2 separate regions of the Homo sapiens genome follow, and region 1 is linked to region 2. The links are contacts of gene promoters, found by promoter capture Hi-C in human tissues and cell types (Jung and others, 2019). All regions are on one chromosome and are shown on one strand. The core of a region is centred on a gene start or on the middle of the fragment in contact, and the rest is flanking DNA. Distances in the headings are between cores, read along the strand shown.

Evidence for each region. The method cuts DNA at HindIII sites, captures the fragments that hold promoters and counts their contacts. A contact is called where the count stands out against the background at its distance.
Region 1: the fragment with the promoter of PCMTD2 here is called in contact with the fragment with the promoter of GMEB2 in region 2 in 1 of the 25 tissues and cell types used here (dorsolateral prefrontal cortex).

Annotation. Positions count from the first base shown.
Region 1 is chr20:64,253,911-64,259,623 of GRCh38, reverse strand. PCMTD2 (protein-L-isoaspartate (D-aspartate) O-methyltransferase domain containing 2) reads right to left here and starts at 3,876. Exons shown (of 6, transcript NM_018257.3): 1 at 3,754-3,876. The HindIII fragment of the contact is 11,329 bases long and covers 1-5,713 here.
Region 2 is chr20:63,624,273-63,629,686 of GRCh38, reverse strand. GMEB2 (glucocorticoid modulatory element binding protein 2) reads left to right here and starts at 2,586. Exons shown (of 10, transcript NM_012384.5): 1 at 2,586-2,731. MHENCR (melanoma highly expressed competing endogenous lncRNA for miR-425 and miR-489) reads right to left here and starts at 2,452. Exons shown (of 2, transcript NR_132417.1): 1 at 2,295-2,452; 2 at 863-1,497. RefSeq lists silencers at 2,145-2,594, 2,685-3,224. The HindIII fragment of the contact is 46,766 bases long and covers 1-5,414 here.

The DNA.
Region 1 (5,713 bases), core at 2,627-5,126, 630 kb before region 2:
GAGGTCAGGAGTTCAAGAACAGCCTGGCCAACATGGTGAAACCCCGTCTCTACTAAAAAATACAAAAATTAGCCAGGCATGCTGGTGGATGCCTGTAATCCCAGCTACTGGCGAGGCTGAGGGAGAAGAATCACTTGAACCCGGGAGGCAGAGGTTGCAGTGATCAGAGCTCGTACCACTGCACTCCAGCTTGCGGAACAGAGCAAGACTCTGTCTCAAAAAAAAAAAAAAAAAAAAGAGAAAAGAAAAAAAACTTTAGGTGGTGTCCTATATTACATCTGGGAATTCTATATCCCCAACATACACAAAAGTACCCACCCAAGTCAAGCAATCCATCTGACCTGTTGATTTGGATATTTTGATGTTCAAATTTTAGACAAAAACAGCAAGAAAACACTCTTCCCAAATTGAACGTACTGTGACAAATACCTTTTTCTAACAAATGCAAAATCAGCTTCCTGGCTAAAGTTTAAGTGTAGGAGGGGCTGCTACCAGAACTTCCTACAGCCCCTCCTCAATTGCATGATACGCAGCTTTCCCAGCTCTTTAAAAATAACAACTACTTGTCTTACCTTCTCCCAACCTGCCTTCAAGAAGAAAAAGCACAGCATGTGTCACCTCTGAGCCTAACTATTAAAATACAGGGTAGCTTCAGCTAATTCACAAGAAAACACTTTTTCACGCGGAGAAGTCTTACTCTTCTTAAAACTACAAAAATATCCTTTCCAATTTTATACTTACCCCATGTAACTTTTTCAAAGTAACTGCTTTAACTTCATATAAAATGGTAATGCTTTACAAAACACCAGATACAAATTGTCAGGGAAAAAGACCACCAGACCTCATGAAGACATTTTCTGAAATGAACACAACCTTTTTAACAACTTGTTATAATTATGATGAAGTTTATACTTGCTTTCCTCCTCACATTCCTCTGGATTTCTAACAGTAGAATGAGGATCGTAAAGAAATACTGTGGGGTGACAAGGGGCCTGGGGCGGATTTCATACACACCCACGTACACAACTGGAGACAGCGGTGGGAGGTTTTCCCAGGAATGAAAATAATCACATAGTTTCTTACAAGTGAACAAAAAGTGTGAAGGGTATAGCTTAACACAAATTCTCTTCTATTTTTATGGTGGAACACTCAATCTTCACACTCAAGATTTTAGAGCTGAATATTAGGTTTTGCAAATCAATAGGATGGTCCAGTCATTAAATTTTCACACCCTTTTTGAATTTTTTGAATTGTTTCGGAGCCCTTGTTAGATTACGGTCCACAGCCAGCTGACTTAGACTTAGATGGAATTAAGTCCTAATGAGGTCAACTTTAATCCTGGATAAGCCACTCAGTTCTGAGGCTGCACCCTAGCCTACCACAGTCATCTTAAAATTTGGGTCAGTGGTTAAAAGCGGAATCATGTGTTTGGATGCTTAAGGGTCTATTTAGGAAAAGAGCTGGAAAATCGCATACCGTCCTCAGTCAAAGCCACCTCTTCACCCAGAAGCCTGTATATAATGTTCCAACATTGTCTCAATGCCACATCTCTAGAAGGTAACCTCAAACTGTATGTTGGATAGGTTTCATTTTCCACTAAGTAACTATCACTTATTTTGAACTCTGCCTTAATTTGAAAGTTCAGACAGCTTTTTAGTAAAAACAAGCACCTTTTTCCAGGTACCACCTGCCAGTCATGGCCTCATTTACACTTCACAACATTAAGAAGCAAATTGGAGCTGGCCGGTTAATTTGTTCATGATCACATAGCCAGTTTGTGAGGAGGGGGCTGCATTCAAACCCAGGACTGTATGGCAAAAGGCCTGTGTTTTTAATACCACACCAGTGCAGCTTTTAAAAATACTCAAGACAGCAACGTTCTTTACCACACAACACACCGGTAACCTTTTGACGATGGGGTAACCCTATCTATACCTATTGCCACTGGTAGGATCCATGTGAATAGCTGTGGGGTCTGATATTTATTACCATCTTTGTCTGGTAATCTAACACTCCCTCGCACTGAAAACCATCGATATGATCAGTCATGATGTCACCAAAAACACCGACAACAAAGCTCTTCGCCAAACCAAATCCTATCATTTTCACCCAGATTCTACAATCTGGTCAAATCCAATTTTTCAAAGTAAAAGTGTAGAATCATTTTTAGAACGCTGCACTCGATGATACTGTGCACATTGTCTGCTGTAATTAATCCTTAATATAATTCACTACTCTGTGGTAACTAGCAACAGTCCATAACAACCTGGCTGCTCCTTACAATGCGAACTGCCAGGGCACATGAAGAACACTTGCTGAGTGGCGACAGGCATGGGAAGGTCTCAGAACTGACACCTGAGTTGTGATTGTGGCTGTGTCAACACAAGCATGAAGCTATGGTAGTGGGGTTTTGGGAGGCGACATACGGAAGATCACATTCCAACTTGGATGTCACTTCTTTAGGGTAATATGGACAAAGTAATTCATTGTGGAAGATGAGTGGGGAAAAGGACCCAAAGCCACATCTCCTTTGGGCAGAATGATCAAACAAACACACAAACAGATTTCTCACCTTGAAAACCAGAACTCTTACAAGCAATGCAAAGGGACTTTTTTCAAATACAGATGGTCTCCGACTTCGGATGGTTCGACTTCAGGTTTAACGATGTGTTTACTGGGATGCGACCCCACCGTAAGCCGGGGAGCACCTATACTTGAAAGGCTGTCACATGTACACTATTAATGGGCCTAACAAAAGCCAGACCAGTGGTACATGTTGGAGACAATGCCTACTAAATACACAGAGAAGCTTTCTAACAAATGAAGTTGCAATGAATGAAAGGAGCTCTTGATAAGCCCAGCCAAGTTCCACTGGAGGTACGAGCTGGGGTGGCGCAGGGAGCAAGGCCCTGGATCGGTCACCTCTGAGGTCTCCTCTCATCACCTGAGTGTAGGGCTCTATTTCCCCCAAGCGTGGCCACAACAATTTCTGAGTTGCTTATAGGCACCTCAACTTCACTCATTCTTGAATGACAGTCTATCAAACGCCCAGATAGGAGCTGTTTAGCCATTCCCTTGAGAAGAAAAATGAAAACTATTCTAGTCACACGAGTAAAGAGGGGGTGGATAAAGAGGGCGTGGATATTTAGGTGACTTATTTGAGGTGCAACGCTGGAGCAAACATTCATTTAGGAGACACGTCCCTCTCACAAAAACAAAACAAAGGCCCGAAGCTCAGGCAAGTTCTCCTTCCTCCAACTAACAAAGATCTCTTTCCATGCGTGAATTGAAGTCCCAGTGCTCTGCTCCAATTCTTACTATCTCCAAGGCACGGGGCGGGGGGGCGCAATTATTTTTTTAAAAAATCCTGTCATCTTCTGAAAGGGTCCAAGGCAGACTTTGTTCTAAACCTTAGCTCTTGGCTTGCCTTGGAACTGCAAACGTTTCCCACTTGGGAAGTCAAAGACAAGCTGCAGGTCTGGACTAACCAGACCCAAGAGTGTGAGTGAGCAACGGGCACCGGGAGAGACCGACGGGAAACCGCGAGCGCTCGGAGAGAGAAACGCGGGACGCCCTGGAGGCCGCTGGGGGGAGGTGAGGGTGCCCGAGGTGGGGAGGAGCGACGCCCCCAGAGGAGAGCTCCGGGCGCAGGGGTGCCGGGGGTGGGGAAGGAGGAGGGAAGGGGCCGAGGGGACACACCACCCGCTCGCCGCAGGCCGGACCGAGGGGCGGCGGCGGCGGCGGCGGCTCTACCTCCAGGCTCGGCCGGCCGACGGGTTCGGACCGCCTGGGCTGCCACCTGCAGCTCCTCGGGCGCGTCCCTCGTGTGTCCGCGGCCGAGCAGCGCCGCTCCAACCTCGGCCGCCGTAAACATCCGCCGCCGCCGCCGCCGCCGCCGCCTCTGCGCCTGCGCACAACGGCCTGACTGCGCATGCGCCGCGGGCCTGGCACTTAAAGGGGTGATGGCGGCGCAGGGCGGGCCCCACTCCCCTGGGCTGCCTGCGTCCGCCCGCCCCGCTGAGAGCTCGCTGAGCCCTAGGCCGGGTCCGAGTCTCGCGGGCGCGCCGTCCGCGCAGTGCTCAGCCAGGACGGACCCCGCACGGGCTGCCTCAGAAGCCCTCCCTAAGGGTCACCTGAGACGCCTTTGCTGACCCACGGCTGGGGGCGTTCCGCATCTCCAGGGTGCCCTGCGGCTGCTGACTCGGGGCCGGCGCTGCCCTCGGGCGGCCTCCCAGCACCAAGCACAGCCGCCCTGGGACCCCCGCCCTGCCACGCGGACGGCCACCCGGCCCTGGGGCCCTCCTACCCAGCCGGCTTTGTGAAATCAGCTGTGAAAGGAAGATATCCTGGGCCCCCAAGATCACTAAGGAAAACTCCAGCAGGAAACTGCTTAGGGCAGGCCTGCTTCCCATTCCATTCAAAGTCACTCCTCTGCTCACTTAGATAGATACATATCTGATTTGCCTCCTTTGAAAAGGCAAATGAGAAACTCAAAAGAATTTAACCGTTGGTGTCTCACCTATCTGTGGCCTGGACGCTCCCTCCCCGCTTGGAGTCTTCCTGCCTTTGCTTCAAGTTGTCCCGTCTTTCCAGACCGAACCGATGTGCTTCTTACATGTATCGATGGATGTATCCTGTCTCCCTAAATGTATAAAACCAAGCTGTGCCCCGACCACCTTGGGCACATGTCAGGACTTCCTGAGGCTGTGTCACGGGCGCGTCCTCACCCTTGGCAAAATAAACTTTGTAAATTAACTGAGACCTGTCTCCCATTTTCTGGGTTCACACAGCCCATTGCCCAAACTTCGCGTGGGGCTTTGCAGATAGGCTGTAGCTGCAGAACCCTTTCTTCAAGCACAGCCATGCAAGCCGCCTCATATGTGCAAGTGCCAGCGTCGCTGGGGCGGACGAGTGGGCCTGGGTCTCCGGTTCCCGCCTCCCTCCTAACTCGGCATTCCTCCCCAGACCCTGGAGCTCCACTTAGGAGCAGAGTTTGAAAACCAAAGGCCGGTGCCTTCACCACGTTATGTGGTCCCAGGGAGACCTCACTTCTCTTGTTGATCCATGGTCCTGGATCCACGGACCTGAGGTGGCCCACCACCTCATGACCTTCATGGGGCTCTCAGTGTCCTTCCACCTGAGAGCTTGTGGTTATTTGTGACTGTTTCAAATTACAGAAGCCCTGGAGTCATCCTTGACTCTCTTCCTACTGCCAGGGGACACGTCCTCCATACATCCCTCCTTGCCCTGTCCCAGCTCCCCTCACCTCTCCCCACCCCTCCCACCATTCCCCTGGGCTCTGGCGAGTGGTCCTCCTAAAACAGGTGATCACATCACTGCTGTCTTCAGACACTCCCTTTGTTCCTGGACCCAACTGAGGGTCGGGCTACTACTTCTCCTGGCCCAATAACAAGATGCAAATGAGCTGGAGAGTAAGAGAGGTTTTATTTCTGTAACCGGTTACAAGGAGAAGGCCTGGAAATTATCACCATACCAACTCAAAATTACAAAGTTTTCCAAAGCTCGTATACCTTCTAAGCTGTATGTCTACATGTAAGTGTGCATTCATCTACAGACATAAGTGATTAACTTCTTTTAATCTATGACTAAGGTTGAGTCCTGAAGACCCTCTTCTGGAGCCTCAGTAAGTTTACTTAATCTAAATGGGTCTAGGTGCTGGGGTGATTACCCTTATCTTGTCTCCTGCTAAATC
Region 2 (5,414 bases), core at 1,337-3,836:
CTTTCAGGTGTGGGATAGGCCACGAGACAAGGGGCTCAAGTGCTTCCAGAAACTGGAAAGGCCAGAACAGCTTCTCCCCTGGAGCTCCAAAAGCAATCGGCCCTGCAGACACCCTGATTTTGGCGGAGTGAGGCTGGGCTGGACTTCCGACCTACAGAACAGTTAGAGAATACATTTGCAGTTTTATTTATTTATTTTTTGAGACGGAGTCTTGCTCTGTTGCCTAGGCTGGAGTGCAGTGGCGCCATCTCGGCTCACTGCAAGCTCCGCTTCCTGGGTTCACGCCATTCTCCTGCCTCAGCCTCCCGAGTAGCTGGGACTACAGGCGCCTGCCACCACGCCAGGCTAATTTTTTGTATTTTTAGTAGAGAGGGGGTTTCACAGTGTTAGCCAGGATGGTCTCTATCTCCTGACCTCGTGATCTGCCCGCCTTGGCCTCACAAAGTGCTGGGATTATAGGCGTGAGCCACCGTGCCGGACACATTTGCATTTTTTAAAAAGAGACAGTTCTGGCCATGTTGGTCTCGAACTCCTGGCCTCAAGCAATCCTGCCTTGGCCTCCCAAAGTGCTAGGATTATGGGCGTGAGCCTCCGCACTCAGCCTAAATTTGCATTTTTAAGCGACTAAGTTTGAGATAATTTGTTATGCCAGCAGAAGAAAGCTAAGTTATCTTGGAGGTGATTTTTCTTTTTTTTTAGATGGAGTTTCTCTCTTGTTGCCCAGTTTGTCTCTTGGAGCCCCAGAGTGAAGGAGGCAGAACAGGCCCCAGGGCTCACCCCAGGCCGACCTCGGTGGGCTTGCGCAACACACAGGCATGATGTAGCCACCCTCCCATCCCCAGGCCCCCCTCAGCACTCCTCTTCGACTTTATTGACATTTATTTCCAAAACGTGACGATAGGCAAACTCAGATAAATGACACACATAGACCGCGTGAACCCTCTCATATTTACCAGATAATAAAATAGTAGCACTGACAAAGGCTCAATTTTTTTTTTTATTCTTCCCCAGAGACAGGCTCTGTTGCCCAGGCTGGTCTTGAACTCCTGGCCACAGGTGATCCTCCCACCTTTGTCTCCCAAAGTGTTGAGGTAAAAGGCATGAGCCACCGCACTCGGCCAATCTAATTTTTAAAAACACCTTTTCCTCACTGGCTGGAGCACGTTCTACTTTACTGGGAACTGAATGAATGTGCAACTCTAATTACAGCCCCTCCGAAGTGCAGTGGCTTGGGAACCTCCCGTTCCGGGAGGCGGCCTGCAGAGCCCTCCTCCTACAAGTGTGAGCACAGGGTCAGGGTTCCATCCAAGCGAGCACCTGCTTCCTATTTTCCGACTAATTTCGGTCCCCTGATACGGAATCCGGGATCCTGCAGACAGGCAGCGGGTGACAGCAAGCACAAGGGTGTTCGATGACACCTGGAGAGGTCAGGAGAGCCAGTCCTGCGGTGCAGAGGAAGAAACCCAGCACAGAGGCCAACAGAGCCAGCCCCAGCCTCTGCCAATAAAACATATAAATGAGCCCTGGGGGCTGGAGGAGGGCCACAGGATCCAAGCTGGCTGCCGGATCCGAGTGGGATCGGGGTGCCGACTGTGGGACATGGGTGGGATGGGGTGCCGGCTGCGGGACTCGGGTGGGATCGGGGTGCGGGCTATAGGACTGGGGCGGGATCGGGGTGTCATCTATGGGATCGAGGTGCTGGCTATGGGACTGGGGTGGGATCGGGGTGCTGGCTATGGGACTGGGGTGGGATCGGGGTATCAGCTATGCTATGCGATCGGGGTGAGTGCCGGCTGTGGGATCGGGGTGCCGGCTGCGGGACTGGGGTGGGATCGGGGTGCCGGCTGTGGGACAGCGGTGGGATCGGGGTGGGTGCCAGCTGTTGGGCTGGGGTGGGATCGGGGTGCCAGCTGCGGGACTGGGGTGGGATCGGGGTGCCGGCCGTGGGACAGCGGTGGGACCGGGGTGTTAGCTATGGGATTGGGGTGGGTGCCGGCTGTTGGGCAGGGGTGGGATCGGGGTGTCGGCTGTGGGACTGCGATAGGATCGGGGTGCTGGTTGTGGGACTGGGGTGACAGCTTGAGGGGTGACCGAGCCCTCCCGGCCGCTCCCGGATGCCCCTCGCCCTCCACGCTGGGAGCGCCGTGGCTGGCTGAGCCTCTGGCATGTTCCGCGTGAGTCCGCGCACCCTACAGCGTCCTCCTCCACAGCCTCGTGTTCAGGCGTCCGCCCCGCAGGGGAGTCCCCTCGCGCCCATTCACACACAGCAGCGTCCGGGCGAGGAGCGCCCGTACCTGGAGGCCTGAAGGTACCGCCCTGCCGCGCGTGGGCACTGCTCCCTGGCGCCGTCCGTCCACTGACCATCGTCCCTCGGCCCGGCCGCCCGCGCGGGGCAGGCAACGCCCGACCGGGGGCCTCGGGGACCAGGAGGAACCTGCGGCGTTAGGAGCTGACAGTGTCGGTCCGCGCACGCGCCCCGGGGCCCGTCGGGCCTTATTTCACGGCCCCGCCTTCCTCCTCCGCGAGCGCCAAATAAGTGTCCGGCCCTCCCAGCCCCGTGCGTGCGCGGCCCCGCCGCCTGCGTCACTAGGAAGCGCGCGCCCGCGCCGCCGCCGCCGCCGAATCCCCAACAAGGAGCGAAGCCCGCGGCCGCCGCCGCCGCCCGCCGCCGCCGCAGCTCCCGACGCCGCCGCCCCCGCCGGGTGCCTAAGCAGGCCCGGCGCGGCCCCAGGTAAGCGGCGCCGGCGAGCCCGCGGCCCCCCCGCGGCGAGGCCTCTCGCTCCGCTCACGCGCCGCCGTCCAGTCAGGGGTCCCTGCGGAGCGTCAGGACGTTACGGCGGGGGGAGGGGAGGGCCGGGGGAGGGGCGGCCGCGCGGGCGGCGGCGTCAGGCGCAACGGCGGCGTCAGGCGGGCGGCGCGGGCGGTGGCGGGCGCGGGCGGCGGCGCTTCCTGCCTCCATCTTGGCGCCGCGGGCGGGCGCGGGCTCGGCCTCCAGCGGCCTCCTCGGTGGACCCATCCCGGGGGGACCACGCCGCAGGGGTGCGACCCGCAGGGACCACCCCGCAGGCACCCGACCCGCAGGGACGCGACCCACAGGGACCACCCCGCAGGCACCCGACCCGCAGGGGCCACCACGCGACCCGCAGGGGCCACCCCACAGGGACGCGACCCACAGGGACCACCCCACAGGGACGCGACCCACAAGGACCACCCCGCAGGCACCCGACCCGCAGGGACGCGATCCCCAGGGGCCACCCCGCAGGCACCCGACCCGCAGGGACGCGATCCCCAGGGGCCACCCCGCAGGCACCCGACCCGCAGGGACGCGATTCCCAGGGGCCACCCCGCAGGCACCCGACCCGCAGGGACGCGACCCATAGGGACCACCCCGCAGGCACCCGACCCGCAGGGGCCACCCGGCAGGCACCCAACTCGCAGGGACGCGACCCGCAGGGATCACCCCACTGGGACCCACTCTCAGGGACCTGACCTGCAGGGACCACCCCACAGGGGCCCGCGTCACTGTAGGCTCACAGGCGGGACCTGGATCTGTGTAGACCCATGGTGGTGTGGACCCTGTTGGTCGGAGCTGATTTGTTGTGGGCCCGTCGTCAGTCATGGCATGTTATCTATTTGGTTACTGTGTAATTCATGCGTGACTGAAAAGTCGTGACTGACTTTTCTGTTGAACCAGAATTCTCTTTCTTTGCTAACACTTCAAATACAACAGTTTCAATTACATCAGTGTTGACCGTGCCGGTCAAGAATACTAGTTTAAAAATATTTTCTTGGGCCAGGTGTGATGGCTCACACCTGTAATCCCACCACTTTGGGAGCCCGACGTGGGCGGATCATGAGGTCAGGAGTTTGAGAGCAGCCTGGCTAACACGGTGAAACCCTGTCTCTACTAAAAATACAAAAGTTAGCCGGGCGTGGTGGTGTGCACTTGTAATCCCAGCTAGTTGGGAGGCTGAGGCAGGAGAATTGCTTGAACCCAGAAGGCAGAGGTTGCAGTGAGTGGAGATGGTGCCATTGCACTCCAGCCTGGGTGACGGAGCAAGATTGCGTCTCAAAAAAAAAAAAGTAAAATAAAATATTTTCTCATATCTGATTTACCTAATAATTTGGAAACTCACTTCACACTAGTGGGGAACCCAAGCCTTGGGATCAAAGCTGGGTGGGTCTTGGCTTCAACACAGAAGGGGCTGTGGAGAGGCCAGGTGTAGTGGCTCACACCTATAATCCCAGCACTATGGGAGGTCAAGGTGGGAGGATCACTGGAGGTCAGGAGTTCGAGACCAGCCTGGCCAACATGATGAAACCCCGTCTCTACCAAAAATGCAAAAATTAGCTAGGCGTGTTGGGTGCCTGTAGTCCCAGCTACTCGGGAGGCTGAGGCAGGAGAATCACTTCAACCCGGGAGGCGGAGGTTGCAGTGAGCCAAGATTTTGCCATTGCACTCCAGCCTGGGTGACAGAGCGAGACTCCATCTCAAAAAAACAAAGAAGGAGCTGTGGAGAGAGGAGGGGGTGCTCGCCCTTGGGAAGGCAATAGGGCGAGGTGCTCTATTCTATAGTGCTTCTTCTGTGTCTAAAGAGCATTGTATCAAGGACTTGCACTATTTTCTGTGAGGTAACTTTTGTGCATATTGCTTTGAACCTTTAATATAGTTGCCATTGGAGGCCAGGCTCAGTGGCTCACGCCTGTAATCCCAGCACTTTGGGAGGCAGAGGCGGGCGGATCACGAGGTCAGGAGATCGAGACTGTCCTGGCCAACATGGTGAAACCCCGTCTCTACTAAAAATACAAAAATTAGCCGGGCGTGGTGGTGGGCGCCTGTAATCCCAGCTACTCAGGAGGCTGAGGCAAGAGAATCGCTTGAACCCGGGAGGCAGAGCTTGCATTGAGCCGAGATCGGGCCACTGCAGTCCAACCTGGGCTACAGAGCGAGACTCCGTCTCAAAAAAAGAATATATGTATGTATGCAGTTGCCAATGGAGAGGCTGGAATTCAGTTTTGTGCGTGTACATTGCGTAATCCTCTGCAAAGCCCTGAAGCTGTGACGAGGACCCCTGCCTGCAGTGAGGCTGTTGCCTCTTTGCAGCTCTCTGCTTAAATGACTTTAGTTGCCCCTGCTGAGCTTACCCTTATGAAAGCAGCGTCTCCTCAGTGAGAGTTAAACCCCGAGAAGTCAGCACGGGAGATCAGTAGTATTTTAAATGAAATTTTTATTTTTTAATTTTAATTTTTTTTTTTTTGAGACAGAGTCTCGCTCTGTTGTCTAGGCTGGAGTGCAGTGGCACAATCTTGGCTCGCTGCAACCTCTGCCTCCGGAGTTCGAGAGATTCTCCTGCCTCAGCCTCCCAAGTAGGTGGGATTACAGGCACCCGCCACCATGCCCGGCCAATTTGTTT